Linked DNA regions of Homo sapiens: region 1 is linked to region 2. Evidence: promoter capture Hi-C in human tissues and cell types (Jung and others, 2019). All regions are on one chromosome and are shown on one strand. The core of a region is centred on a gene start or on the middle of the fragment in contact, and the rest is flanking DNA. Distances in the headings are between cores, read along the strand shown. Region 1 has its middle 9.6 kb from the start of RRP36. Region 2 holds the start of LRRC73 (leucine rich repeat containing 73).

Region 1 (2,978 bases), core at 343-2,842, 480 kb before region 2:
TGCAATCTCGCCTCACTGCAACCTCCACCTCCCAGGTTCAAGTGATTCTTGTGCCTCAGCCTCCCGAGTAGCTGACATCCGCCACCAAGCCCAGCTAATTTCTTTCGTATTTTTAGTAGAGATAGAGTTTTGCCATGTTGGCTAGTTTGATCTTAAACTCTTGGCCTCAAGTGATCTGCCTGCCTCAGACTCCCAAAGTGCTGGGATTACAGGCGTTGAGCCACCGTTCCGGCCTTAAGGCCTCTGCTTTTATGTGGGATTTGTGGGTAGCCTAGAACTACTTTTTAGTGGGCCACATATTGGGATAGGCAATAAAGCCTAAGGCATCTACAACTGGGAAGTCAGATCAGAAACCCCTCCCACTTAAATCTGGGCCCCTCAAGGATGACAAGATCATTTAGTGGGTGAACCAATCCCACAACTCCCCTACTTGGCTTTGGTTTTGGATGCAAGGGATGTTAAGAGGTAGGGATATAAAGCTTCCATGGTAATATACAAGCACAGCTGGCCTTCAGTACTGTTTGGGACAAGAGTTTATAACCCATGTGGTCTGGAAAATCCTCAGGCTGATAACTTAGTTTAAAATAGTCTCAAGTAGGCTGGGCGTGGTGGCTCACACCTGTAATCCCACCACTTTGGGAGGCCGAGGCAGGCGGATCACCTGAGGTCAGGAGTTCAAGACCAGCCTGGCCAACATGGTGAAACCCCATCTCTACTAAAAATACAAAATTAGCTGGGTGTGGTGGTGGGTGCCTGTAATCCCAGCTACTCAGGAGGCTGAGGTAGGATAATCACTTGAGCCTGGGAGGTAGAGGTTGCAGTGAGCCAAGATCGCACCACTGCACTCCAGCCTGGGCAAAAAGAGTGAAATCACCACCGCGCCCCCCCCCCCAAAAAAAAATGGCCAGGCATGGTGGCTCACACCTGTAATCCCAGCACTTTGGGAGGCAGAGGCAGGTGGATCACGAGGTCAGGGGTTCGAGACCAGCCTGACCAACATGGTGAAACCCTGTCTCTACTAAAAATACAAAAATTAGCCGGGTGTGGTGGTGGGCGCCTGTAATCCCAGCTACTCAGGAGGCTGAAGCAGGAGAATTGCTTGAACGCGGGAGGCGGAGGTTGCAGTGAACCAAGATCGCGCCACTGCACTCCAGCCTGGGCGACAGAGCGAGACTCCGTCTCAAAAAAAAAAAAAGTCTCAAGTAGATAGTGTCTCCAGGGTCCTGGCAGAAGCAAATGTAATCCTTTCTTGAGGATTGTTTTTTTTTTGTTTGTTTTTTGTTTTTGAGATGGAGTCTCACTCTGTCGTCCAGACTGGCAAAAATTAAAATGTGAGAAGTATAAAATAAAAAATACAAAATGTCTTATGTTTAAAGAAAAAGTGTGACAAATGAATATCAAAAGGTACTAAACTGGTGTGATTAAAAAGTAAAACTTAAGGCCGGTCACGGTGGCTCACGCCTGTGTTCCCAGCACTTTGGGAGGCCAAAGCGGGTGGATCACGAGGTCAGGAGATGGAGACCATCCTGGCTAGTACAGTGAAACCCTATCTCTACTAAAAATACAAAAAATTAGCCAGGCGTGGTGGCGGGTGCCTGTAGTCCCAGCTACTCTGGAGGCTGAGGCAGGAGGATGGCATGAACCTGGGAGGCAGAGCTTGCAGTGAGCCGAGATCGTGCCACTGCACTCCAGCCTGGGGAACAGAGCGAGACTCCATCTCAAAAAAAAAAAAAAAAAAAGTAAAACTTAAAAAGAAAACCTTTTAAAAATGAAAAGTAGGGCCAGGCATGGTGGCTCGTGCCTGTAATCCCAGCACTTTGGGAGGCTGAGGTGGGTGGATCGCCTGAGGTTGGGAGTTCGAGACTAGCCTGGCCAACATGGTGAAACCCCGTCTCTACTAAAAATACAAAAAATTAGCCGGGCGTGGTGGCGCATGCCTGTAATCCTAGCTACTTGGGAGGCTGAGGCAGGAGAATTGCTTGAACCTAGGAGGCGGAGGTTGCGGTGAGCCAAGATTGCGCCACTGCACTCCAGCCTGGGCAACAAGAGTGATACTCCACCTCAGAAAAAAAAAAGTACACTACGAGAAGTTAGAAACTTTATGGTTAAGCAGCAGATTAGACTTCTCCCTAAAGGGAGAATGAACTGGAAATAGATCTGAAGTTACACAGAGAGAGCACTGACATACAGAGAAGTGGAAACTAAGGAAAAGAGGTTAAAAAACATGGAAGAGGCTGGGTGTAGTTGCTGACACCTGTAATCCCAACTTTTTGGGAGGCATAGAGAGGACTGCTTGAGGTCCTCAGTTGGGGACCAGCCTGGGCAACATAAGGAGACCTTGTCTCTAAAAAAAAATTAAAAAATCAGACATGTGGCACATGCCTATAGTCCCAGCTTCTCTGGAGGCTCAGGCTGGAGGATTGCTTGACCCCAGGAACTTGAGGTTGCAGTGAGCTATGATGGCATCACTGCACTCCAGCCTGGGTGACAGAGCAAGATCCTGTCTATAAAACAACAAAATGAAGATAAATGTGAGACTTGACAATCAAAATTTCAGGAAAGAATATTTCAAAGAGGCTGGGCATTTTCTAGAATTTTTTTTGAGATGGGGTCTCCCTCTGTCGCCCAAGCTGGAGTGCAGTGGCACGATCTTGGCTCACTGTAACCTCTTCCTCCCAGGTTAAAGCTATTCTTCTGCCTCAGCTCCCTGAGCAGCTGGTATTTCAGGTGTATGCCACCACACCTGGCTAATTTTTTTTTTTGTAGGGATGGGGTTTCACCGTGTTGGCCAGCTGGTCTCAAACTCCTGACCTCAAGTAATCCACCCACCTAGGCCTCCCAAAGTGATAGGTTTACAGGTGTGAGCCACCGCACCTGGCCTAGTTTTTTTTTTGTTTTTTTTGTTTTTTTTTTAAGGCTAGATAAATCATAAGCCAGGAACATTTGAAAGTCTATCCAGCCTGGGCAACATGGTGAAA
Region 2 (3,157 bases), core at 237-2,736:
GAGGGCCAGGGCTGGGTTCAGCAAGGCCAGCCCCGCATCTGTCAGGGGGCTCCCATGCAGGCTGGAGGAGAGTGAGAGAGCAGGGTTACTGCAGTCCTCCGCACTATCTACATGGGAAAGGGGCACTTTCACTTCTGTCAGCCCTAGGTATGGGGAGGGCAGTCACAGCGCTTGAGAGGCCTGGAAAAGGAGAAGGAAAGTTCTAGATTCTCAGGGAATACAGATAGAGGGAGAATTCGGTTTGTTTTCTGGGGCAGGGATCCAGGACATTGCACAGGGAGGGGCAGAGAAGGGGTGGGTGGGTGGTGGACCGGAACTCTGCAGTGGGCAGGGCTCTCGTCCCCACGGGGATATTCCCCCTTGGGAACCAAGGAGCTGCCCCAGTGAAGTAAATGCAGATGATTAGGTGGGGAGGTACGGCCCCCACCTCATGTCAGGAACTGGTGGGTATCCCAACACGGCTAGGGTCGCGCGTGCAAAGTCCAAGCATGTGCTTGGAGGGTGCTGTGAAGGCATGGGCCGAGGCACGGTGTATGTGCATAAGGCATGTGAAGGTAGGATGGTACTGGAAGGAGTGTGGAGGAACAGGAGGTGCCAGGGGAGTGTATGGAAGGGTGCAGTGCCCGGGACCCCCTTGCGAGGGGGCGCACTCACAAGAGGGACTGGATGGAGCGGTTGGTCCGCAGAGCCTCAGCCAGCTGCTTGATGCGGCTGGGGCTGGACACGACGCCCAGGTTAAGGTTGAGCTGCGCCAGGGACGTGGCCCCGGCCAGGGCCCGGCAGATGCGGCCAAAGTCGCGGTCGCAGAGGCGGCAGCCGCGCAGTGAGAGCAGGCGCACGGCGTTGTCGCGAAGGCCGCGGCAGATGTCCCGCACCTCGGCGCCGGACAGCGGCTCCCCCGAAATCTGGATGGAGCTGGGCAGCATCGTGCCCACGGCTGGGCCTCCGGGTACGGGGCCGGAACGGAGGTTGGTGGGGCCGCGGGCGGGGCCGGGGATAGGGCCGGGGTCGGGGCCCCGGCAGGGGTCGCGGGCGGAGTGGGGCCGGGGGTGGAGGCGGCGGCTGTGGCGGAGGCTGCGGCTGCGGCGGAGGCTGCGGCGGGGGCGGAGAAGAGCTACCGGGACTGAGCCGGAGCCGGCCAGAGGTGCGGAGGCGTCCAGGGCGCGGGCCGGGCTGAAGTGGGGCGGCGCTGGGGCGGGGGCGGCCCGCACGGTCCGTGTCTGGGCGTTGGGGCGGGTGCGCGTTCCGGGGGTTGGGCAGGCGCTGCTCGGCGCTTGTCCTTGTCCCTCGCGGTCGCGGCGGCGGCGGCGGCAGCGGCAGCGAGCGGCTCAAGGGCTTCGGCTTACCGGTCTCGGCTAGGAGGCCGTACCCGCTCCCTCCTTCTCTGCCGCCCGGCTCCCCCCGACCACCCCGCGGGCCTGGCCGCACGGCTGGCAGAGAGAGCCTGAGGCGGGCGGCTGGCGGCAGCTCCGGCTCCAGCTCCAGAGAGCGAGCGGGCGGCGAGTTCCCATGGCAACGGCCGCGTCACCGGCGCTCGCCCCGCCCCCTGCCCGGCCAAGGCCACGCCGGCCCGCGAGGTTCGCGTACACTGGGTGGTTCGGGGCAAGGAGCTGGGAGCGATAGGCCGCTCTTCCCTTGGGAGTGGGGTCAGCCAACTGGCAGGCGGCAGGCGGCAGGGCTGAGTGGGTAGGGCTGACGGGGAGCGGAATGGAGGCACGCCCCGTGGAGATGGCGTTGGGCACGGTTACTGCTGCTTCTGCCCATTCTTCCATCCTTCCCCGTTCCTAAGGTCCATACCCCCGCCGGAATCCAGGGCACTGTTCCCTCCTATTTGGAAGGCCCCAGGGCCCTTTCATCCGCGCCGCGCCTCGCTCCCGCCCCCGTGACTCGAGGCGCAGCGTGCGTGGTGATCCCGGCCCATGGGGACTTCCCCGCTTGCTCCTCGCCAAGATGGCGGCCTCATCAGGGAGGCCCCAGGGGCCACGGCTGGGCAGAGCCAGCTTGAGCTGCTGGGGAGAAGGGTACCCCATAGGGTCCCTAGGGCAGGGGAGCCTCAGATAGATGCAAGGTCCTGGTGCCACACCTTCTCAGGTACGCAGGGCACTGTTGACATCTGAGGGTGTGTCCGTGCCGCGAGACTGGGGCAGCCAATACAAAGAAGGTGCCAGGGCCAGGGCCCTGGAGCACTGGTGAGGACGTGAAGGCGGCTGAGCCACACTGCACGGTGCAGGCGGTGCTGTCTCAACTTTGTCCTCTGGCCAGGGTGGTGGGGGACTCACTTGTGTAACGCAGGACAAATGAAGGGCACCTCTGTTTGTCCCTTTGTTAGGAGGGATAGATGCTGCTGACCCAGATTTACTAGTGTTAAGATGATTATTTTACATAAAATATAATATTCAATATAGTGAAGGGAGGTCAAAGGCCCTATTCCCACTCTTAGCCACCTGAATTAACTTATTAAGTGGAGCATATTAAAGAGGTGGTGGGGGTGGATGGTGCTATGTTAGGAGTGGTGGTTGGTTTTAAGAGGAAAGACAGAAAAACTAAAAGGAGCTGGCCCCAGTACCACCAAGGCAAAGCCAAATTTGGCTTCAATTAAGAGCTCCACAGGAAAATTATCAACACAATGCCCAGGTGCAGAAGATCCTTGTTTTGACACGGGGTTTAAGTCGGGATGTTTTGTTCAATTGTCACTGCTTCCTTGGCTTCCCAAGAGAGCAGCTGAGCCCAGACTCAAGCTGGCTGCAGTGTTCCATCAGGCTTATGGCTTTTGTGCTTGAGGCCTCCCTGCCGCTTCATGGGTCAGGTGTGATATTCAATCACTGCCTTCTATGTAGTCTGGCCTGTCCCACCTTTATCTTGCCTGGGTGAGGATATGAAGAAGGGAACATATGACATTACCACTGTTGACTGAGTAGGAAAGTATATAGGAAGCGGGATGACAGGGAGGACCACTGGATCAGCCGCTGCAGTTCCAGACTTCAATCAACATTTTAATTACCAAGTCTATATTTAGCAAGACAATGTGGGAGAGATAAAGAGGAAGGAAGGGGTAGGTGGGGAGGGGTTCTCAAAGGAGCTGACCCATTTTCTGCATTGGCTGCAGAGCCTTGCAGTCCTGGCCAGGAGTTCTTGGCCTTGTGCCTTTCAGAAGTGC

What was found. Contacts are between HindIII fragments. The study calls those that stand out against the background at their distance.
Region 1: a contact is called between a fragment that was not itself captured here and the fragment with the promoter of LRRC73 in region 2, in 1 of the 25 tissues and cell types used here (spleen).

Annotation. Positions count from the first base shown.
Region 1 is chr6:43,029,686-43,032,663 of GRCh38, forward strand. No RefSeq gene overlaps it. Among named protein-coding and RNA genes, the nearest start is that of RRP36, 9.6 kb to the left of the region's middle. The HindIII fragment of the contact is 7,304 bases long and covers 1-2,978 here.
Region 2 is chr6:43,508,860-43,512,016 of GRCh38, forward strand. It overlaps LRRC73 (leucine rich repeat containing 73), which reads right to left and starts at 1,487. Exons shown (of 6, transcript NM_001012974.4): 1 at 655-1,487; 2 at 1-61. The coding sequence starts at 926. YIPF3 (Yip1 domain family member 3) reads right to left here. Exons shown (of 9, transcript NM_015388.4): 9 at 2,973-3,157. RefSeq lists silencers at 1,065-1,334, 1,355-1,644. The HindIII fragment of the contact is 5,504 bases long and covers 1-2,173 here.